Regions from separate parts of the Homo sapiens genome. Here regions 1, 3 and 4 are each linked to region 2. Evidence: promoter capture Hi-C in 16 types of primary human blood cells and fetal thymus (Javierre and others, 2016). All regions are on one chromosome and are shown on one strand. The core of a region is centred on a gene start or on the middle of the fragment in contact, and the rest is flanking DNA. Distances in the headings are between cores, read along the strand shown. Region 1 has its middle 3.4 kb from the start of LINC01530. Region 2 holds the start of SIGLEC8 (sialic acid binding Ig like lectin 8). Region 3 overlaps IGLON5 (IgLON family member 5). Region 4 has its middle 9.4 kb from the start of MIR99B.

Region 1 (3,249 bases), core at 237-2,736, 140 kb after region 2:
AGGTGACTGCAGATTCAGAGGTTGAAAAAGCTGAGTTGTCTTCCATAGAGAAGCTGGGTGAAAGGTGGTGTTGCTTCCGGGAGACGGGGAGCTTGGTTAGGTAAGTTTCTGCCTTGGGGTGTGAGAGCTGGTCAGTTGGGCACTGAGATATGAGAGGCCTAGATGGGATCTTCCGTGGGGCATTTGGAGGGCCAGGCTGGTGGACATTGCGATTCAGAGTCACCCACAAACAGAATGAGAAGAGGGGTGATGGGCAGGATATGAGGACTGTGAAGAGGCCTCCCCAGAAGATATTAAGCAGGAGGCAAAAAACAAGAACAAAGAGGGAGGACTAAATCAAAAGCTGTGGGAGAAAGTATTTCAAAGGGGACTTTGCTCCGCTGTGACAGATGTACCTGACATCACCGCAGTTGAGTCCTGAGGGCTGCTTGATGGCTCAGTGACAGGGAAGAGTGCTTTGGGCAAAGAGAAGAGCCAGTGAAAACAACTAGAGACAAGAGTGTTCCTGGGGGTACTCAAGAGTAGACACCAGTAAGCAAGAAGGAGAGTGGAAGGAGATGAGGACAGAGAAACAAGGAGCCAGAGCCTGTAGGGCCTCGTCGGCCATTAGCAGTTACATTTTGTTTTTTGTTTTTTTGAGACAGAGTCTCGCTCTGTCACCCAGGCTGGAGTGCAATGGCACGATCTCGGCTCACTGCAACCTCCGCCTCCCAGGTTCAAGCAATTCTCTGCCTCAGCCTCCCAAGTAGCTGGGATTACAGGTGCCCACCACCATGCCCAGCTAATTTTTTTGTATTTTTAGTAGAGACAGGGTTTCACCATCTTGGCCAGACTGGTCTTGAACTCCTGACCTTGTGATCCACCCGCTTCGGCTTCCCAAAGTCCTGGGATTACAGGCGTGAGCCACTGTGCCCAGCCAGTAGTTACTAAAGTGAGATGAGATGCAGGGCAGGATCCCACTGGCTGTTATATGAAGGAGTGTGTGTGGAGGAGGCAAGGCAGGGAGCATGGAGACCTGTGAGGAGCCCCCTGCAGCCATCTAGGAGAGAGGCAGACCTGACTAGGGTGCTGCCATGGAGATGGTCAGAAGTGTTTGGCTGTTTTGAAGCTATAGTCAAACAATATGTGTGACTTTTCATTTGAGCACCTGGAGTTTGAAAGGGTCCGGACTTAGCATTGCAATTTGGCTCCACCCACTGGGAGAGTGACAACTGTAGTGATAGAAAGAGCAGTCCAGGGTCCTGGACCCCAAAGCTTCTGGCCTGAGCAGCTGGAAGGGATGGAGCTGCCCTGTACTCCAGGAGAAGCCCGTTAGGTTAGAGGAATCAGGAATTTGGGTTTTGAGATGCTTATTAGACATCTGAGTGGCACTGGTCTTTACTTGCATGTAAGTTAGAGACGGTAAATACACAGTCATATGAAATAATTCCACACATTGTGGTAAATCCTAGAAGCAGCGTGACCTGCTCTGAATGGCAAGGATGTGACGGCAGTAGTGCAGGCTGGAGGTGGTGGTGGCTTGAGGAGGGGGACTAAGCCTGGGGAGTTTTTATGGGTTCACCAGACAAGTGGGACGAAGGAGGTTCGATGGGACAGTTAGAGTCTTGGCTGGGTGGGGAGGGATGAGGTAGGAAAGAGAACAGTTGGGGGCCAAGGATGAGCCAACCCCATCACTGACCCCTCCCCTCCCAACCTCTCTGTGTCTTTCGGGGGCCACAGAAGCTTAGGTGGATTCTGATACCAGAGCGGGGTTAAGTTCAGAACTGGAGGCCTACACACCCTCACCTCAAAAATAGGTGCAACCCCTGCTAGTCTCCCTAGAGGTTGATCTAGCCTGCCTGTGTATGTCCTTGTAAGACACAATCAGGACCCATTCCTGGAGACAGAATGCCCACCCCGACCCCTGAAAGTGAAATCCAATTGGTCTTTTCTGTATAGCCCCCTTCCCTTGAACAGAGCATGACCTCCCTCTGTCCTTAAGAGTCTCTGACCCCTCCCCTCCCAATCTCTCTGAATAGTCAGTAATATCTACCTTCTGATCAGGGCTGTAACATGGGTGGCCTCCTGGAAGTTGTTACAACTGGTCCTTAATAGACGCCCTCACCCCTTTGGACAGGACACGATCTAATTCTGGGTATAACCTGCTTGTTGCTCCCTCTTTTTCCCCCTGAAATCAGCTTAAGTTCCTTCTCTTCTTGGTGCATAATGGGTGCAGTCCAGGAAGCCTTCCTGGAGGCAGTGGCCTTCTTACACCAGAACCCATTTATAACCCACGTATATAAGAGCAGCAGCCACAGCTGCCCCTGGTCTATTCCAGGCAGGGGCACTATCTAGGGAACTCCTCAAAGGCAATGAAACATGTGTAACCCGCCTCCTCTCCCGGTCTAGGAGAAGCTGTCCCTTCTTGCAATGCCCGCCCCGTCATGTGCCTCCTGCCACGTGGCATGCGCCTCCCTCCGCCGTCCATGCTCGGGCCAAGTGCTGTGCGGTTCCTGCTTCTGCACCGCCTTCGAGGCGGAGGTGCAGCACATGGTGCTTGTGGGCTACCTGCTGCCGCCAGGCGCAGTGGTGGCCCTGGGCACCTCGGGCGGCAAGGATTCCACGGTGCTGGCACACGTGCTGCGCACGCTGGCACCGGGCCTGGGCATCTTACTGCAGCTCATGGCTGTAGACAAGGGCATCGGGCGTGGCTTAGCGGGAGGATCCCAGTAAGGAGCTGGGGAAATACGCATGTGCCTATTTAGGGCCGGAGCCTACTGAAGGCTCATGTGGGTAGTACGTGTGGCTCCCTACGATGGAGTAAGGCAGGTTTTTCAAGCCTCTGGGTCTCTGACATCATCTTAGTGAGAGATGAAGCTGGCTGGGCTTCTGGGTCAGGTGGGCACTTGGAGAACTTTTCCGTCCAGCTAAAAGATTGTAAACACACCAATCAGTGCTCTGTGTCTAGCTAAAGGTTTGTAAACGCACCAATCAGCACTCTATAAAACCAGACCAATCAGCACTCTGTAAAACCAGACCAATAAGCACTCTGTAAAATGGACCAATCAGCGCTCTGTAAAATGAACCAATCAGTGCTCTGTAAAATGGACCAATCAGCAGAATGTGGGTGGGGCCAAATAAGGGAATAAAAGCTAGCCACCGAGCCTGCAGCGGCAACTCATTTGGGTCCCCTCCCACGCTGTGGGAGATTTGTGCTTTTGCTCTTCACAATAAATCTTGCTGCAGCTCGCTCTTTGGGTCCGCACTACC
Region 2 (3,216 bases), core at 685-3,184:
CTGCGGAAGGATATTTGTGCCATGATTTTCCTTAAGGGATGCCACAAAGTCAGAGTCCATCTGTGCAGTGAAATCACACACGGTCCTAGAGGACGGGGTGGACAGTCTCACTACGATGTCAAACCACCTCTGAGATCCTCCAGGTGCACAAACCAAGACTCAGGGCAGCCTGGACGGACGCTGGTCAGTTCCGTGGAGGGGGATGGGCACTGGAGGACAGACTTTGCTGTGCATTTTGAATTTCTGCCCATGTGACTGTATCATCTGGGCAGAAGTACTTAGATCGAAACTACTGGGAAAACAGAAAGATCAGACAGAGGAAGTATTCAGGAGATGCCTGACAAGAAACTTGAAAGTCTGGTCCCAAAATAAAAACGAACAAAAACCAAAAAAATTGGGAGTCTGATCCAGCTGTGTGAATGTCACCCTGTCCTTGCTGTGGGGCCAAGGAAGGGGTGTGTGGAGGAGTCTAAGGGGAGCAGGGACAGGATGGGGACAGGGGCTCAGATGGTCACGCGGGCTGGAGATGTGGGCTCTTGTGCCCTGGGCTCACGCACAGTGGCAGCTCTGTTTCCCAAAGTGATTCCAGGATGAGGAGAGACCCAGCCCCATCCTGAGCTGAAGGCCCTGCTCCCCCAACCCCAGGGAGGGGGCTCTGTCCTACCTGTGGCATCTCCTTGGAAGACAGTCATGGTCAAGTTCCAAGGAGGGTCTGGGACAGAAAGACATGAAGACCCACATTACTATAAGGACTGGGGACATTGGCCCTGTCTTCCCAGGAGCTGCAAATACAGGGAAAATGGAGTCGGCATTCTCCTGACCCCACTCCCAGCCCAGATTCTGGGACCCAGAACCCAGTGTCCAGGCTTGAACCCCATCCCCTGCCCTCAGGAACACCTCCCAACCCATGAGGGACCTGGGCATCTTGGTCCAGCACTCACAGGACACATCGAGGCGGACGGTACTGGTCGTGGTCACACCTGTCCCAGGCAAGGTCACCTGACAGGTGAGGCTGGTGCCGTGGTCCTGGGGCTTTGGGGTAAGGGTGAGCACTGAGGAGCGGGCAGTAGTGGGGCCCGGGGAGGACACGGAGGCCCCAATCCAGGAGATCATGGGGGGTGTCCCCTGCTTACAGGCCCAGGGCACAGAGCAGGTCAGGTTCCTGGAGTGGCCAGACTCTAGGGTCCCTAGGATGAGGATGTCAGGCCTATGGGTCAGGGCTGGTGAAGATGGGGACACAGGATCAGGAGGAGGTATTTCAGGTGCAGCCCTGGAGGAAGCTCAAGCTCTGGTCCAGCTCCTCCCCGGAGACCGACTTATTTCAATCCCAACCCCCTCCCAGGCCCCATCCCAGCCCTGCCTTTCAGCCCCTCATGACCTTCCCCTGTGGCCTGTGCTGGAGCCCGTGCCTTACCTGTCACAAACACAGACAGCTGCTTAGTTTTGTAATTCAACTGTGATTTGTAACTCCATTTCATGCTTCCTCTCTCTAGCCGAAAGAAATATGACCCCTTATCCCTCTTCCTGGCGTCTCTGATGCTCAGGGAGCAGTCGTTGCTCCAAATGTCCCCAAGGAGTTGGAATCGGCCCTGGGTCTCTGCCTGCACTTCTCTGTCTGGGTTGTTTGTGGCCACTGGAGCGTCTTGGTATGGTCTGTCTCCTGCCCGGAACCAGTAGCCATGAACTGGGTCAGAGTCAGTCCAGCCATCCTGGGGGTAGGAGAAGGAGCAGGGCACATGGACACACAGGCCCTCCTGCACCGTCACCAGCTCCTGCACTTGCAGCAAGTAACCATCCCCATATTGTCTGTCTCCCTCCATCCCCTTTGTCCCCCAGAGCAGGGGCAGCAGCAGCAGCAGCAGCAGCATGTCTGGGTTTGAAGGCGCCAGGGCCGCCAGGGAACGTCTGTTCCTCAGGGTTCTTCTCTCAGAAACTGAGGTCTCAAGACTTAGGGGAGGTCCCGCAGGAGGTTGGGGGTGAAGTCAGAAAAGTGACCTCCTCAGAGGAGGAACTTCACACACAGACACTGTCAGGGCCGGGTCAGTCCTGGGAGATCCACTGTCCACCACCCCATTTCCACTCCTGGGAACCCTGAGGCCAGAGAGGGTGAGAAACTCATCCAGATTCCCACCCTATGCAGGGCCCAACCTCTTTCTTGCTTCCCGGACTTGCCCTTCCATTTGGGTAACATTTTCTGCAAGGTGAAATTGGGTCCCATCTGGCCAGACCCCTGAATCACCCCCGGGGCTGTCACTGTTTGTGGAGGTCATACCAGCCAAAGGTGGAACTCAGGGCCATGAGAGACTGGGGTGCAGGTGAGGTGAGCAGGCAGCCTCTCCTCCCTCTCTCAGCAGCAACGAAGTGGGCACCTCCTCTTTACACAACGAGGTCAACAGAGCAGAGCCAGACACTGTCCTCAAGGAGTCACTGTGCAGAGGGGAGACACGGAGGCTCCTGACGTCTGAGCTCCCCAGGACGGGAGCTTCAGTGGGGGGCACAGGCAAGGTGGGGTCGTTCTCCCCTAGGTCAGGGGTTCAGTCTCAGGAGGCCTGAGCAGAGGGACACGGGGCTGTGGAGGTGAGGATTCTGCATGTTGATACACACGAAGGACGGGGGGCGGGGGGAAGCCTGGCTCGCAGGAGGCCTGGGAAACTGAGGCTGTAACTGTTGTACTGTGGGGTTTGGAAGGGAGAAATGTCAGAAGGGAAAGGGTCAATTTGAAAAGGGCACACACTTCTCCCTTTGTTGCAGCTATCTGGGTATCAGAATGGGTTTCTTCACCACCCGTATCTTACTCAGCCACACTTCCCCTGGTTACTGCACAGCAGGCGGGGTCTGTCAGCCCTGGGGCTTTGCTCCTGCAGGCTCTGCTTCCAGGGGTCCAGGTGAACAGGTGTCATGGAACGAGGACACCAGCCCTGGGGTGTGCACCTTCAGCGATGGGCAGGATTTCTTGAGAGAAGAAATGTGCACCTGAATTCAACAGATGATGATGATGATGATGATGATGATGATGATTATTATTATTATTATTATTATTATTATTTGAGACGGAGTCTCTCTCTGTCGCCAGGCTGGAGTGCAGTGGCGCGATCCCGGCTCACTGCAACCTCTGACTCCCTGGTTCAAGCGATTCTCCTGCCTCAGCCTCCCAAGTAGCTAGGATTACAGGCATACGCCACCACATCCAGCTAATTTTTGTATTTTTAGTAGAGC
Region 3 (3,090 bases), core at 513-3,012, 130 kb before region 2:
GGGTGCCTGGAGGGGGGCGGCGGTGGGAGTGACCCGAGGTACATGAGGTGCTAGAACCCGAGGCGATGGGTCACTGGGGTAGGGGGCAGAATGCTGGGTCACCGGGGAACGGAGGAGCCTGAGAGTCGGGGGGCTGGCCTGGCTGGGCGCTGCGGCCCGGCCCCTGACCCGGATCCCTGGCAGGCTGAGCAGCGGCACGGCCGAAGGCCTGAAGGTGCAGACGGAGCGCACCCGCTCGATGCTTCTCTTTGCCAACGTGAGCGCCCGGCATTACGGCAACTATACGTGTCGCGCCGCCAACCGACTGGGAGCGTCCAGCGCCTCCATGCGGCTCCTGCGTGCGTCTTCGGGCGGGGCGGGGCCGGGAAGGTGGGCGGGGCCGGGGGCGGGGCTAGGGAAGTGGAGACGCCGGGACCGCCCTTCAGGCTGGCCCTGAACTTAGGAGATGGACGCTGAGACTGAAAAGCAATGCGAGTAAGAAACCGATCCACGCAATCAATATTCATTGAGTGCCAGCTAAGGGTTTGTCGTGGGGGACGCAGCTGTGCACAAAAGAAACAAGGTTTGGGGATTCGCAGAGCTTATAGTCTAGTAGGAGTAGAAAAGCAATAAACAAGTGGTCATGTAGGTAAATAAGCAAACACATACATAAACAAAAAATAATTTTGGAGGCCGGGCGTGGTGGCTCACGCCTGTAAATCCCAGCACTTTGGGAGGCCGAGGCGGGCTGATCACCTGAAGTCAGGAATTTGACACCAGCCTGTCCAACATGGTGAAACTATGTCTCTACCAAAAAAAAAAAAAAATACAAAAATTAGCCAGGCGTAGTGATGGGCACCTGTGGTCCTAGCTATTCAGGATGCTGAGGCAAGAGGATTGCTTGAACCTGGGAGGCAGAGGTTACAGTGAGCCGAGATTGCGCCTGGGTGACAGAGCGAGACTCCGTCTCAAAAAAAGAAAAAAAAAAAAAAAAAGAAACAGAGTCAGAAAAGCAGGCACACCCAATGAGAGATCCAGAAAGGACGCTAAAGAGTGGGCTCAGAAGAGATGGGGCCCCTGGAGAGACACACATGGGGTTCCCCACTCTCAGGCCTCCCTCCATGACCCCTTCTCTTCCCCCAGGCCCAGGATCCCTGGAGAACTCAGCCCCGAGGCCCCCAGGGCTCCTGGCCCTCCTCTCCGCCCTGGGCTGGCTGTGGTGGAGAATGTAGGCGCAACCCAGTGGAGCTCACCTCCCCCTGCAGGGGGCCTCAGGCCAAGAGTGAGAGAAACGGGGGAGCAAGAGCCGTGGGTCTCGTGGGGGCAGAAGAGCTCTCGGCCACCAAGGAAGAAGAGAGAGGAGAAGAGGAGGAGGCAGAGGAAGAAAGATCTTCAGAGAACCCATCACTGTGAGGGATAACGCAAAATTATGCATCTTTCTACAGCCATTCTCGCCACCCGTTCACGTTTCCGATTGTGACCCACTCCCGCCACCCCATACCCCTCTCTCTTAGCTCAGGCTGTCAACTGGCTTGTGTGGGTGTGGGTGTGTGAGTGTGAGCCTGCATGCATGTGTAGGTGTCTGTGTCTCTGTTTGTGTGTGTGTGGGGGGGTGGGCTGGGGGAAGGGACTCAGCCGTCCTCCCGCCCCCAAAACCCCCATGTCCACTGTCCCCAACCCTATTGCCTCTCACCTCTGGCTGGAGGTAGGTATGAGGCTCTGCAGTGGAAGCTGTGAAGAGAGGCTTACCAGGCTCCCTGCTTCCCCAATATATGCACGCACACTACCCCTCCCCCTGTCGAAAGGGCAACTCCTGGCAGGTTGGGAGTGGGGAGGGGCATCGCACTCACCTGTCAAGCTGTCATTCAGCCTTTGTGAGTAAGTGGGGGACCTCCATCTAGGCTCTGGGCTTCCCTGCTGTCAACCACCAGCTTCCTGTAGCCAGAGGCCCCATCGCTGGCTCAGTGGCCTGAGACCTTCCCACTTTTCCTGTCCCTCCACACCCTGGATTTTCTGGCCCCCTCCTGGGCCAATCGGTGCTTCCATCCAACTGTCAGACTGGTGGCAGGAGTCACCTGTCTGTTTCAGTGCTTTGCCCTACCCTTGCCACCACTCCCCTTGGCCTTGATTTCCCCACCTGCGGCACCAGCCAGCTGCCCTTGGGGCCTTTGCAGCTGGCCCACAGGTGTGAGCTTGCTGGTCTATCACTTCCTGGCCTCTCCACCAACTGTACCTCCCAAAGGCTACCTGACCGCCCTCACAGACACTCAGACGCACCACACACACATACACACACACAGACACACACACACACACACACACACACACCAGCGACTGTGACCAGCAATAGCCCCCTGGCTCCAGCTGTCCGGTAGCTGGTGACTAGCTGTATTTCCCCCTGGGTAGGCATCTGGTGTCAGGAAGGGACGCTGAGAGGCCGCAGCCTCAGCTCTGACTGTAGGAACACTCCACCCTGGTACACCACACCACACAAAGTGGGGGACAGAGAGGCATCACACAGACATCCTGAGCCCAGACAAAGATGCCATGTCACCAACTCCGACTCCCAGGAGACCCTCTATATAAACACCCACCCCAAACCACACCACCCAGAGTCTGGTGGAGAAAAGGAGAGGGCAAGGCGCAGTGACTGTACCTCAGACGGGGGCATGGGCCCCATCCCACATTGTCTTCCATTCCCAGGGTCCAGGGGATGGGGTGGGACAGGGGAGGGATGCTAGGGAGGGGGTGGGGGGCCCTGGGGGCCATGTGTTCCAATTCATGGGGAGTGTTGAGACCACCACACCAATAAACGCCTTTTTCCAAAGTCTGCCTGCAGGTGTCAATGTCATTAAGGATTAGAGTTAATGAAGGGCAAAGGGTAGCAGTCAATTGGTGGTGCCTCTCCAGCATCATTCCTACCGCCTACTTTCTCACTGGTAGACTTGGAATGGACTCATTACAGAGATGCCCTGTGATTGGCCGAAGACACCCAGCATAGCCCATTTCCCACCGTGATTGGCTCAGAGATGGGCACATGACCCAGTAAGGCTAATGAGAAAGTGAATGGATTCCCAAGAAGAGATGCTTTTCTGCTGGATATTGTGGCTC
Region 4 (2,998 bases), core at 326-2,825, 220 kb after region 2:
AGCCAATCACAAACAGCCAAGCTTCAACCAATCACAGGCAGCTAACTGATCATATCCGTGCCCAAATAAGGCAAATGTCTTGCTGTAGCCAACCAGATGATTTCTCTACTTTGCTTCTGTGTTCAGCTTATACAAGCTCACTGCTCTTCTGATTCTGAGTGTTGCCCTACTCATGAATTGTTCTCTACTCAAATAAACTGTGTTCAATTTAATTTGTCTGAAGTTCTTCTTTTAATAGGTCAGTGAATGGTATAAAGGCCCAGTCCCCTTTCCCCGATTCAGGACATCTCTGTGGAGCCATCTAGCTGTAGAGTTTCCTGTAGGATTGGCTGGGGCTTCTGTTATGACTGCATAGTAGTTCACCTTCTCCCACTGCCTAATCCTACTTCCTTCGCTCCCCTACGAGTGTGAATCCTGAGAGCAGGAAATTAATAGGGGTGTTCTCAGGATTCACACTTGTAGGGGAGTTCTAACCTCTGCTTCAGAGTCAGTTTCCTGAAGAATCATCTGTAACTTATAGGTTTTCACAATCACCATTATTTATTTCAGCCTCTTACTCCTGTAATTGTATAATTACACACACATTTATACTTTGATAAAAATTTAACTTTGAACACACACACGATGTTCACTCCAAGCTACATTAGAATGCTTAAATTTGAAGGTGACTATTAAGATTTTAAAGTTAGGAACATGATTTGTTCATATTTCTAATGTTATTGTGCTAGTTAGATAGGCTGGTAACCCAATCTGTCATGTATTCATCGTGACCACACAAGTTCAGGGATGCCAGAAATGAACTTCAAATTGGCACTCAGTGGTTCCACCTCCAAAAGACTGAGGTGAGATCAAAGTCAAATAGAAAAAAATGAACAAATATTGAGGCTGAAGCTGAATTTTAATGCAACCCAACTATGTGCATGTTTGTGTGTGTATGTATGTTTACTTAAACATGAAGTAAAGAATGACAAGACACACAGATAAACATGGATACTATATTGGTTTTCTAGGGCTGTTGTAATAAAGTATTATAAACTGAGCAGCTTAAAACAACAGAAATTATCCGGGCACAGTGTATCATGCCTGTAATCCCAGTACTTTGGGAGACTGAGGGCGGGCAGATCACTTGAGGTCAGGCGTTTGAGACCAGCCTAGCCAACATGGTAAGATCCTGTCTCTACTAAAAATACGAAAATTAGCCAGGCATGGTGGCAGGTGACTGTAGTCCCAGCTACTTGGGAGGCTGAGGCAGGAGACTCACTTGAGCCCAGGAGGTGGAGACTGCAGTGAGCCAAGATCATGCCACTGCACTCCAGCCTGGGTGGCAGAGGGAGACTCCACCTCAAAACAAACAAGCAAAAACAGAAATGTATTCTCTCGCAGATGTGGAGGCTAGAAGTTAGAAATGAAGGTATCAGCAGGACCAGCTTCCTCTGTAGGCCCCTTGGTTTCTTGTTCTAGCTTCTGGTGGTTGCCAGTCATCCTTGGTGTTTCTTGGCTTGTAGATGCATCACTTGAATCTCTCTGCCTCCATCATCACATGGCCTTCTTCCCAAGTATTTTATCTGCATCTTCAAATATCTCTCTCCTTATCAGATTACCAGTCATTGGATTTAGGGCCCACTCTAATCCAGTATGCCTTCATTTTAACTTGATTACATCTGTAAAGGCTCTCAAAGAAGGTCACATTCACAGGTACAGGGGATTCAAACTTTAACATATATATTTGGTGGGGTGGGGACACAATTTAACTCACAACAGGTATGACAGATAACTTTGGGAGGAGAAGCACCTGGTGAATGGGTAGGAAGGGAGGGGTCAATCAAGGTAACCAAAGAAAAAAATAAATGAGGATGGGAAAGAATACAGTAAAAATACCTTCATAAGAATAAATTGCCCTGTTAATATAAAATTCTGTGCATGTGTATGAATAAATTAGAATAAAGAGCTAGCTCTGTATTAATTTGTAGGCATAACATTCGATAATTCTTTTATATGGTTTATTGTGTGCCAGGCACTGTTTTAAGCACTTTCCATACATTAACTCCTTTAATCCTTATGTCTCAACCCATGATATAGGTACTATTATTATTACACCCATTTTACTGATGATGAAACTGAGACATAGAGAGACATAGCTAGTAAAATGGCTGAGCCAGGATTCAAACCTGAGCCATCGGGCTTCAGAATCTGTGCTCTTAATCACCTTGGCATATGTAGTATGACTCTGTTCTTCAGAAACTAAAACAATATATATGTGTACAAATGCATATGTATACATTTATATTTTAGAAGACATAAAATTAAAGTATCAAGATCAAAAATAAAATCTTGGATTCTAACCAGCTCTGTCAGGGCTCACAGACAATGAATGATAAATATTCTGGTTGGCCTATTTTGTGTCATATACCCAGATGCCCAGACTAGGTTTTTTTGGGGGGAGAAGGAGGGGCATCAGTGCTTGGACATTCTTGTCAGAGTCATGTGGAGTGGGTTACTTAAAGGAAAGAGATGATCTATTATCAGAGGTAGGAGGAGATGGCAGCTGACGGACTTGCAAAAACTATAACTAGTCTGTCTCCTTGAACCTCAGTGTAACCTTCCCTACCTTTTTCTTAGATGTAAACAGCAGAGCAGCTGAAGGTCCTTCACTCATCAAACAAAAAGAAGGTATGGCCCAAGGTGAAGAGAAAGGCTATAGGGAAACCCTCCCCAAAACATCACACCCATTTTCCCATGCCCTTTGTTCAGAAAATAATTAATTGTGGAAATGAGATCTGTTGCCTCCCCACTTCCCCCAGCCCAGACCCGACAACAATGGGGACCCTGTCTCTACTTCCTACAAGTCCACCAGGGGCAAATTACCATTTGGGGTTATTTAATGGTGTAATAGGAGAATCTGCTGCTTTTAGTTCAGGGGTGTCCAATCTTTCAGCTTCCCTGGGCCAAACTGGAAGAATTGTCTTGGGCTGCACATAAAATACATTAACACTAATGA

What was found. Contacts are between HindIII fragments. The CHiCAGO score rates a contact against its expected background, and 5 or more counts as called.
Region 1: a fragment that was not itself captured here is called in contact with the fragment with the promoter of SIGLEC8 in region 2 in 1 of 17 cell types (erythroblasts); the score reaches 5.3 in erythroblasts.
Region 3: a fragment that was not itself captured here is called in contact with the fragment with the promoter of SIGLEC8 in region 2 in 6 of 17 cell types (fetal thymus, neutrophils, erythroblasts and 3 more); the score reaches 6.0 in fetal thymus.
Region 4: a fragment that was not itself captured here is called in contact with the fragment with the promoter of SIGLEC8 in region 2 in 7 of 17 cell types (erythroblasts, monocytes, total B cells and 4 more); the score reaches 8.4 in erythroblasts.

Annotation. Positions count from the first base shown.
Region 1 is chr19:51,596,135-51,599,383 of GRCh38, forward strand. It overlaps the pseudogene LOC339352. Among named protein-coding and RNA genes, the nearest start is that of LINC01530, 3.4 kb to the left of the region's middle. The HindIII fragment of the contact is 468 bases long and covers 1,253-1,720 here.
Region 2 is chr19:51,456,520-51,459,735 of GRCh38, forward strand. It overlaps SIGLEC8 (sialic acid binding Ig like lectin 8), which reads right to left and starts at 1,935. Exons shown (of 7, transcript NM_014442.3): 1 at 1,415-1,935; 2 at 942-1,220; 3 at 665-712. The coding sequence starts at 1,868. The HindIII fragment of the contact is 20,005 bases long and covers 1-3,216 here.
Region 3 is chr19:51,327,549-51,330,638 of GRCh38, forward strand. It overlaps IGLON5 (IgLON family member 5), which reads left to right. Exons shown (of 8, transcript NM_001101372.3): 7 at 184-338; 8 at 1,123-3,090. The coding sequence ends at 1,211. Among named protein-coding and RNA genes, the nearest start is that of VSIG10L-AS1, 11 kb to the right of the region's middle. RefSeq lists an enhancer at 710-1,632. The HindIII fragment of the contact is 3,886 bases long and covers 1-3,090 here.
Region 4 is chr19:51,681,699-51,684,696 of GRCh38, forward strand. It overlaps a transcript of SPACA6 not described here. Among named protein-coding and RNA genes, the nearest start is that of MIR99B, 9.4 kb to the right of the region's middle. The HindIII fragment of the contact is 3,112 bases long and covers 20-2,998 here.